Linked DNA regions of Homo sapiens: region 1 is linked to region 2. Evidence: promoter capture Hi-C in human tissues and cell types (Jung and others, 2019). All regions are on one chromosome and are shown on one strand. Each heading gives the region's core, a stretch centred on a gene start or on the middle of the fragment in contact. The rest is flanking DNA. Distances are from core to core; before and after follow the strand shown. Region 1 holds the start of EDC3 (enhancer of mRNA decapping 3). Region 2 overlaps CYP11A1 (cytochrome P450 family 11 subfamily A member 1).

Evidence for each region. Contacts are between HindIII fragments. The study calls those that stand out against the background at their distance.
Region 1: the fragment with the promoter of EDC3 here is called in contact with a fragment that was not itself captured in region 2 in 2 of the 25 tissues and cell types used here (dorsolateral prefrontal cortex and hippocampus).

The regions. Positions count from the first base shown.
Region 1 is chr15:74,693,132-74,698,224 of GRCh38, reverse strand. It overlaps EDC3 (enhancer of mRNA decapping 3), which reads left to right and starts at 2,201. Exons shown (of 7, transcript NM_025083.5): 1 at 2,201-2,345. RefSeq lists an enhancer at 2,152-2,241. The HindIII fragment of the contact is 33,216 bases long and covers 1-5,093 here.
Region 2 is chr15:74,357,085-74,362,551 of GRCh38, reverse strand. All of the region lies in intron 1 of CYP11A1 (cytochrome P450 family 11 subfamily A member 1), which reads left to right. It also overlaps the pseudogene PPIAP46. Among named protein-coding and RNA genes, the nearest start is that of CYP11A1, 7.8 kb to the left of the region's middle. The HindIII fragment of the contact is 5,215 bases long and covers 1-4,472 here.

The DNA of each region.
Region 1 (5,093 bases), core at 952-3,451, 340 kb before region 2:
TGGGCAACAGAGTGAGACTCCGTCTCAAAAAAAAAAAAAAAATTATCTAGGCAAAGACCTTGCACCCTTCATAAAAATTAACTCAGAATGGATTGTAGACCTAAATGTAAAATGGAACACTATAAAACTCCTGGAAGACAACACAGGAGAAAACCTAACTGATCTTGGGAATGGCAATGACTTTAGGGCAATACCAATAGCATAATCTGTGAAAAATATAATTGATAAGCTGGACTTCATTAAAATTTAAAACTTCTGCTCTTCAAAAGAAGAATGAGAAGACAAGCCACAGACTAGGAGAAAATATTATAAAAGACGTATCTGATAGAGGACTGTTATCTACAATATACCCAGAACTCTTAAATCACAACAAGAAAATAACACAATGTAAAAATGGGCAAAATACCTGAATGAACACTTCATCAAAGAAGATATACACATGGCAAGTAAGTATATGAAAAGATGTTCAATATCATATGTCATTAGGGAATTGCATATTAAAACAATAAGATACTACTACACACTTACTTGAACGGCAAAATACTGACACCACAAAACGCTGACAAGGATGTGGAGCAACAGAAACCCTCATTCACTGCTGTGGGAATGCAAAATGATGCAGCCACTTTGAAAGGCAGTTTGGTAGTTTCTCCCAAAACTAAATATACCATCCAATCCAGCAGTTGCACTCCTTGGTATTTACCCAGATGAATTGAAAACTCATGTCTACACAAAAATCTGCACATGATGTATAGCGGCTTTATTCATAATTACCCAAACTTGGAGGCCACCAAGATGTCTTTCAGTAGGTGAATGGATAAACCGCAGCACATCCAGACGATGGAATATTATTATTCAGCACAAAAAAGAAATGAGCTATCAAGCCATGAAAAGACATGGAAGAACTTTAAGTGCATAAGTGAAAGAATCCGATGTGAAAAGGCTGCATACTGTATGATTCCAACTATATGGGATTCTGGAAAAGGCAAAACTATGGAGACAGTAAAAGGAGCAGTGGTTGCCAGTGGTTAGGGGACTGAGAAGGATAAATAGGCAGAGGACAGAGGATTTTCAGGGCAGTGAAACTATCGTGTATGATACCATAATGGTGGATACATGTCATTACATATATGTCAAAACCCACAGAATGTGCAACACCGAGAGTAAACTCTAATGTAAACTATGGACTCTGGGTGATAATGATGTGTCAAAGTTGGGTAATCAATTGTTACCAAATGTACCACTGTAGCACAAGATGTCCATGAGGGGACAAGTTGTGTATGTGCCTGTGTGTACAGGGGATATATGGGAACTCTGTACTTTCTGTTCAGTTTTGCCCTGAACCAAAAACTGCTCTATAAGTGTTCATTAATAACAGTAATTTTAAAAGACAAGGACCCCTTCTGACCTAGGGAATCTCTGGTGATGGAGGGGGAAGGGTGAAGCAGTCCCCTAGAAAGTGTAGATTTTACAAAGTTCTTCAACTGATTTTGTAGAGCTAGGTTTGGAACTGCTACCCTACTCTATGCTATTCGCCCAAGTAGTGGTTCCCAAACCAGGTGTCAGGCTTCAAGGCTGTGCAATATTCCTCATTACACGGTCTTGGCCCTAAACGCATGCTTTCCCGTCTCCCCACAAATCAAGACTCTAAAATGCCAGGGGTAGAAGAGCGGCACTTTCCTGTGTACTGAGTATGGGGGAAGGGAGAGCAGTCAAGCACGGACTGGCTGATTTTAACCCCCAAAAGGGCTGAAGCTGATACGCTTTGAAGATCGACCACGGCAGGAATATCTTGTTTTCTTTAATCCATCAGGGGGTTGTCGCACTTATTAAGTCCCACAGCTGCAGTTTAGCACGGAGGGGCTGTCACGTCACCAGGCCTCCCTGAAAGTCCTCCGCTCCAGCTCTGCGATTGGCGCTGGGGTAACAGGAGGGGAAGCGGGTGCTTTTCATCGAGCCTGCAAGAGGGGGGCCCAGGCATCGAGGCTGGGGAGTCGTGGGTAGAGCCCCGATTCCAGCCAAGACGCCACAGGACATAAGTAAGCGTGGAGGGCAAAATGACTACCCAAGCGCAATTCTGTAAGGCCGAAGGGACGTTCTTCCAACCTCTTAAATTTCCCGGGTGCCACGCCCCTCAATTGACGGCCCTGGATTCCAAGGTGTCGCGCCGGAAGTGACCTCACGGTGGTGGCGTGGAGACGTGGGGGCGCTTCCGGCAGCGGCGGCGGTGGTGAAGGCCGATGCTGTGGGGGTGGGCGTGGAGAGAATTCTTCTGTGGGTCCTCTGGTGTTGAGTGGTCGGCTTGGTGTGGTGTGCGGAGGAGCTCCAGGCCCGTCGGCGCGGAGGTGGGAGCGAAGGGAGGCTACTGGTTTGTGGACGGTCGTGGGAGGGGGCTGCCGGGGTTGCTTTAGGCTTCAGAGTTCCAGGCCTCGTAGACCTTTATAGAGGCAGGCAGGCAGGCAAGAGCTGGGGGCTTCATCGGATGAGCAGGGGACCACGTACTACGGGCGGCCCCAGGAGTTTGGTTTGAGGTGGAAGGCTGAGGACTGCAGGATTCTAAATAGTATGGGGATTGTGTGGGGAGTGAGGCATTAGCTGCTTGGGCCCTTAGTCCAGCCTTGTTGGTGGCTGCTGCAGTTCTTTGGCTCACTCACTCTGTTCTTCGTGCCTCAGTTTCCCTTTGCATAATGAGATACGGTGGCAGAGAAGAACGCCAGTGCCACATCCATGACTGATAGCTTGAGGACGGAGATGAACTGGAGGGTAGAAAAAGAGGATGCCTGAGAAATTTATACCTACCAGGTCACATCTTCGAATCCCAGGAAGTTATCCCTGGATTCATTTCTGCCTTTGATGCAAGTCTGTGGTTCTTTTCAGTACACTTTGTGTGATATTGATTGTATGTATCAATACTTGACTTGCTGAGTGGTTAAAGTGTTTTGGTTTGTGGGAGGCATAGTCCTTGTTGGCTTGGTCAGTTAATTTTCAGTTAATCTCCCAATAGCAATTGCTTCGCCTAACTCTTCAATTGGGAGATTAGTTGAAAATCAACTGACCAAGCCAACAGTCTTCTCCTGTGGTTACAGGTGAGGAACTCGCGACCCAGAATGGTTTTTCTTCTCTTCCTTCGCCACAGACCAAACCGATTTCAGTCTGCTGTCTCAAATACAGGTCTTCACCCCACCAAAACAGAAATGGCTGTCTCCAAGCAGTTTAGTATTTCAACTGGACACCCAGATGGATCCTAATCTTTTTTTTTTTTTTTAATGAATGGCAGATTACGTGTACTGAGCACAAAATCCTCTTAGCTAGTTTCTCTGTATGATGTAAAAACATGACATTTTGTTTATTACCAATTTCTTGGTAGAGCCTCCTTGGCATAGGGCTGTGGGGCTAGAAAAGTGTCTCAAAATTTTTTACCTGTGACCCACAGTTAGATATATTATACATCATGACTTATTGTGCCCCTGCACACTCAGTGTGTACACACACACACACACCAATGAAAAGTTTACTTACCCTTTCTACAGAAGATGCACTCTAAAAAAATATTGGTTGCAACTCACTAAATTGAGTCTGACCCCTAATAGGTCATGACGTATAGTTTGAAAAATATTAAGGCCGGGCACTGTGGCTCACGCCAGTAATCCCAGCACTTTGGGATGCTGAGGCGGGTGGATCACCTGAGGTCAGGAGTTGGAGACCAGTCTGGGCAACGTGGTGAAACCCCGTATGTACTAAAAATACAAAACTTAGCTGGGTGGTGGTGGGTGCCTATAATCCCAGCTATTTGGGAGGCTGAGGCAGGAGAAACGCTTGAACCTGGGAGGGAGAGGTTGCAGTGAGCCAAGATATGCTACTGCACTCCAGCCTGGGCAACAAGAACTAAACTTCTCAAAAAAAGAAAAGAAAAGAAAAATATTAGACTAGGGCCGAGTGCAGTGGTGGGAGGATTGCTTAAGGCCAGCCTGGGCAACATAGCAAGACTCTGTCTAAGAAAAACAACATTAGAAAATGTTTAAAATCCTTGCCATTTGTGAGATTCTGTAATTAATACAAAATGGAAGATGTATCATTTTTCTTTTCTTATCCAGAGAAGGGCTTACTAGAGTTCTCCTAAATTCAGCCAGAACAACAGGACAGGACATCCAAATTGTGGCTCAAAGGAGTGTAGTGACCATAATGATAGTGTGTCAGAATTTTAGCAAGGCATTTATGAAGTTTTTGTTTTTTTTTTTGAGATGGAGTCTCACTCCATTGCCCAGGTTGGACGGAGTGCAGTGGTGCAATTTCTGCTCACTGTAACCTCTGCCTCCTGGTTCAAGCGATTCTCCTGCCTCAGCCTCCCAAGTACCTGGGACTACAAGCATGCACCACCACGCCTGGCTAATTTTTGTATTTTCAGTAGAGATGGGGTTTCACCATGTTGGCCGGGCTGGTCTCGAACTCCCGACCTCAGGTGATCCACTCACCTCAGCCTCCCAAAGTGCTGGGATTACAGGTGTGAGCCACCGCGCCTGGTCTTACTGAGTCTTACTATAACTGAGTGGGCGAGATGGAGGAATTTGCCAGATTGTGGTAGTTAGATGGAGTCATGAGTTTGAAAATCTATGTATGGAGAGGTTTGATTTGTGGACACTACTTACAGCTGGAATTCCGGTGATCTAAACTGGGGTTTCATCACTTTCTTTATATACTTCATGTATTTGAGACCTTATCTAGAAGGTTTGCTTATTGGATTTGGTGCCTTTGTGAAGTAAAGAAAGAGTCATTTGGTTGGTGATTGCCAGAATGGGAAAAGATCTCAATATAATTTGCTCAGTGCTGTTTAATGAAATGAAGGAAGCATGTATAAATGTGAGAAATTGCGCTTGGGTCCAAACAAAATCAACTATACCTATTAGGGGAGGGTGGAGATGTGACCTCACAGGAGTTCTATAATAAAAAGATGTGATGTTTTAATCACCAATCAGTGGTGTGGTTAAGAAGGCTGTGAGAAGAACCGATGTGACCTGCATTAGTATATTGTATCAGGAAAATGCAAAATCTAGAATGAGAAAGGTTGCATCACTGGTAGGCTTGTACCTGGAATA
Region 2 (5,467 bases), core at 616-3,115:
GTTCAAGGTCCTGAAGTTTTGTTATAGTGTAGATGGCAAGGACAGTCTTTCTCTGATGTTTCCAGCAGATTCAAACCATAAAAAGCTTTTTTTTTTAATCTGGTGAAAATACACTGTAGCATAATAATCTACTGTTATAACATCAGCCCTCTTGCATGGGAAAGCTTTTCTACAACCAGAAAACATGCATGGAAAATAACAATGGAATGAAATCCCTTTATAAAATGTTTAAATGGCTGACCAGAAGACCAAATATACCTGAAGCTTTAATTGTTTTCCTAGGAATATGGGATCAAGCATTGGTTATAAACAATTTTTTGTTGTTATTTAGTTTTTATTTCATAATCATAAACTTTAACTCAACTCTGCAGTCCAGCTAGGCATGGAAGGGAACTGCAGCGAGAGCACAAAGATTCTAGGATACTGCGAGCAAATGGGGTGGAGGGTGCTGTCCTGAGCTACAGAAGGAATGGTCTGGTGGTTAAGATAAAACACAAGTCAAACTTATTAGAGTTGTCCACAGTCAGCAATGGTGATCTTCTTCCTGGTCTTGCCATTCCTGGACCCAAAGCGCTCCGTGGCCTCCACAATATTCATGCCTTCTTTCACCTTGCCAAAGACCACATGCTTGCCATCCACCACTCAGTCTTGTCAGTGCAGATGAAAAACTGGGAACCGTTTGTATTGGATCCAGCATTTGCCATGGACAAGATGCCAGGACGTGTATGCCTTAGGATGAAGTTCTCATCATCAAATTTCTCCCCATAGATGGACTTGCCACCAGTGCCATTATGGCATATGAAGTCACCACCCTGACACATAAATCCTGGAATAATTATGTGAAAGCAGGAACCCTTATAACCAAATCCTTCCTCTCCAGTGCTCAGAGCATGAAAGTTTTCTGCTGTTTTTGGAATCTTGTCTGCAAACAGCTCAAAGGAGACGTGACCCAAGGGCTCGCCGTGACTGCGATGTCAAAGAACACGGTGGGGTTGACCATGGCTGATAGTACAGGGCTCCTGGTGGCAGTGACGGCATCTGCAAAGCGACAGGTTATAAACTATTTTAAACAATTTCAGTATTAGCTGGTTTAACATGAAAGTCTTTTCTTGATATGTAATTAATTTTTTGTTGTTGTTGTTTTACGTGGGTTAGTAGCTTTATACAAGAAAATTTGGTCATTTTTGTGGTTTACAATAACTTAACATAATTATAATTGTGATTGGTAACATATACTTAGACATTAGAATTTGAGAAATCCCATACAATTTTGGAATATATTATTCACAAAAATATAACCTAAAGAAGATTTAACATCATTTTGTCAATCCCATGTACCTAAACATGTCAAATAATCCTGTTTACCTCTTTTCTGGATGTTTTCAGGGGCCCTCTGATTCATCTAGAAAGCCAGGCATTAGGAAAGACAATTTTGAAACTGAAGTTTGATTTTGGAATTCCAGATTACCGTAAACTATTTATTTTGCCAAAATGATGACTCAGAAATTTTAAAGAAGCAAAAACCTTTTGTAACCTTCCACACACACAAAAAAACCCCCAACACTTTCTACTGTTCTTATACACCTTGCATGTAAAACTGTTTCTAGTAGTCTTAATTGCATGTTATAATGGCAAATTTGTTTTTTTTGAGACAGAGTTTCACTCTTGTTGCCCAGGCTGGAGTGCAATGGCATGATCTCGGCTCACTTCAACCTCTGCCTCCTGAGTTCAAATGATTCTCCTGCCTCAGCCTCCCCAGTAGCTGGGATTACAGGCAGGCACCACCTTGCCCAGCTAATTTTGTATTTTTACTAGAGATGGGGGTTTCACCATGTTGGTCAGGCTGGTCTTGAACTCCTGACCTTAGGTGATCCACCTGCCTCGGCCTCCCCAAATGCTGGGATTACAGGTGCGAGGCACTGTGACTGGCCTATAATGGCGAATTTTAACATAAAACCTGGTAAGTTAGGCCAGGCGCGGTGGCTCACTCCTGTAATCCCAGCACTTTGGGAGGCCGAGGCGGGTGGATCATGAGGTCAGGAGTTCAAGACCAGCCTAGCCAAGATGGTAAAACCCCATCTCTACTAAAAATAATAATAAAAAATTAGCCAGGTGTGGTGGCGGGCGTCTGTAATTCCAGCTACTCAGGAGGCTAGGGCAGAGAATTGCTTGAATCTGGGAGATGGAGATTGTGGGTGAGCCGAGATTGCGCCACTGCACTCCAGCCTGGGGGACAGAGTGAGACTCTGTCAAAACAAAAACAAAAACAAAAAAAACTGGTAAGTTCTGATAAAGTTTCTGATAAGGTTTGACTACTTCCAGCACAGCTAGGGGCATGGCTAACTCCACGTGTCCCCAGGCCTTACCTAGCTGGAAAGCAGGCAAGTTAAACAATTTTCAAAAGCCAAAGGAGTAGCTTATGATGTTAAAGGATTTAGCAAACCTAGTATTTGAACATAATGTACACCACATGTTTACATTTTGAAGACAACTGTATTTTTCCAATAATCTTGAAAACTGTCTTTATTTCCCAACTATTGCTAAAGTCACATGAACTAAAAGGCATTACACTTTCTACTTTTCTGACAAAATATTTGACTTAAGCTTTTATTATTATTAAACCAATTAATTTAAAATCTTACAGAGGAGATATACGTGACTTCTACTTTATATTTAACCAGTTTGCATAGAGGGAAAGAGCCCAGAGACTGACTCATAAGAAATTCTTATCCTTTCACCGGCATGCCAGATTTCAGGGTTCTCTCTTTCACGCGTGTCCCTGTGAAGAGACCACTGAACAGGCTTTGTGTGAGCAATAAAGCTTTTTAATCACCTGGGTGCAGGTGGGCTAAGTCCGTAAAGAGAGTCAGCGAAGGGAGATAGGGGTGGGGCCGTTTTATAGGATTTGGGTAGGTCATGGAAAATTACAGTCAAAGGGGTTGTTCTTTGGCAGGCACGGGCAGGGGACACAAGGTGCTCAGTGGGGGAGCTTTTGAGCCAGGATGAGCCAGGAGAAGGAATTTCACAAGGTAATGTCATCAGTTAAGGCAGGAACAGGCCGTTTTCACTTCTTTTGTGATCCTTCAGTTACTTCAGGCCATCTGGGTGCATACGTGCAGGTCACAGGGGACATGATGGCTTAGCTTGGGCTCAGAGGCCTGATATTCCTGTCTTCTTATATTAGTAAGAAAAATAACATAAAATAGTGTTGAAGTGTTGGGGCAGCAAAAATTTTGGGGGTGGTATGGAGAGATAATGGGCAATGTTTCTCAGGGCTGCTTCAAGCAGGATTAAGGGCAGTGTGGGAACCTAGAGTGGGAGAGATTAAGCCAAAGGAAGATTTTGTGGTAAGGGGTGATATTGTGGGGTTGTTAAAAGGAGCATTTGTCATGTAGAATGATTGGTGATGGCCTGGATGCAATTTTGTATGAACTGAAAAACTAAATGGAAGACACAAGGTCTGAATAAGAGAAGGAGAAAAACAGGTATTAAAGGACTAAGAATTGGGAGGACCCAGGACATCCGATTAGAGAGTGCCCAAGGGGATTCAGTGTAATTACTTGTTTGGTTGGTGAGTTTTTGGGCTCTATTCTTGACAGAGTCCTTTTTTTAAGTTGGAGGCTGAGTTTGGTGAGGTGTGTTTTTAAAAGACCATTAGTCCGTTTTACCTTTCCTGAAGATTGAAGACGGTAAGGGGTATGAAGGTTTCACTGAATACCAAGAGCCTGAGAAACTGCTTGAGTGATTTGACTAATAAAGGCTGGTCTGTTATCAGACTGTATAGAGGTAGGAAGGCCAAACCGAGGAATTATGTCTGACAGAAGGGAAGAAATGATCGTGGTGGCCTTTTCAGACCCTACGGGAAAGGTCTCTACCCAACCGGTGAACGTGTCTACCTAGACCAAGAGGTATTTTAGTTTCCTGACTTGGGGCATGTGAGTAAAGTCAATTTGCCAGTCCTGGGCAGAGGCAAATCCCTGAGCTTGATGTGTAGGGAAGGGAGGGTCCTGAGGAGTAGTAGACTAGCAGATGGAACCCTGAGAAGTGATTTCCTTGTGGATAGATTTCCATGATGGAAAGGAAATGAGAGGTTCTAAGAGGTGGGCTAGTGGCTTGTAACCTACATGGAAGAGGTTATGAAATGACGACAGAATAGAATGGGCCTGTGAGGCTGGAAGGAGATATTTTCCTTGGTCTAAGAACCATTTGCCTTGTGTGGGAAGAGATTGATAGGTGGAAGTTTTAGTAGGGGAGTAGGTGGGAGTGACCGATGAGAAGGAGAAAAACTGGCTGTGAGGGATAGAAGTTGGAATGCTAGCTGCTTTTTAGCTACCTTATCAGCATAAGCATTGCCCAGAGCAATGGGATCTGATGCCTTTTGATGGCCCTTGCAGTGAATGACTCCAGCTTCCTTTGGAAGTAAAGCGGCCTTGAGAAGAGTTTTTATTAAAGAGGCATTAAGATGGAGGACCCTTGTGTAGTGAGGAGACCTCTTTCAGCCCATACAACAGCATGGTGGTGCAGGATATGGAAGGCATCTTTAGAGTCAGTATAAATATTGACGTGTAATTCATTTGCAAGGGTTAGGGCTCCAGTTAAGGCAATGAGTTCAGCTTGCTGAGAGGTAGTGGAGCGGGGCAGAAAGTATATGCATCAGGTGTGAGGAAGAAAATAGATTTTGGAAGTTATGAGAACTGGAGAGAGTGAGTTGAGCACAGTTTGTGATTTTGAGGGCCTCTAAAAGTATTAAAGCAGCGACAGCTGCCGTACACAGACATGAGGGCTAGGCTAAAACAGTAAGGTCAAGTTGTTTGGATAGAAAGGCTGCCGGGCGCGGTCCTGGCTCTTGTGTAAGAATTCTGACCGCACAGCCCTGCACTTCAGCTGTGTGTAATGAAAAAGGGTTGGATGAGTTAGAGAGAGCTAGTGTGGGAGCAGCTTCTAGGGCTGTTTTTAAGGAACAGAAAGAGGAGTGGCGAAAGAATTTAGGATCTATGGGATCAGCTAAGTTTGCATTTTTAAGTTTATATAATGGTTTAGTCAGGATGGTAAAACTAGGTATCCAAAGGTGGAGTATCTAACCATGCCTAGGAAGGAAAGGCATTGTTGCTTTGTAGAAGGGGTTAGGGTTTGTGAGATTAGCTGGACGTGATCAGCAGGGAGAGCATGTGTGTTTTCATGAAGAATTATGTTGAGATAGGTAATGGATGAGGAAGAAATTGGGGTTCACTGAAGTAATGGGGCCTGTCCGTGAAGACTTGCAGCAGTACAGCCCAGGTAATTTGCTGAGCCTGATGGGTGTCAGGGTCAGTCCAAGTGAAAGTGAAGAGAGGCTGGGATGAAGGGTGCAAAGGAATAGTAGAGAAAGCATGTTTGAGATCCAGAACAGAATAATGGGTTGTGGAGGGAGGTATGGAGGATAGGAGCATATATGAGTTTGGCACCATGGGGTGGATAGGCAAAACAA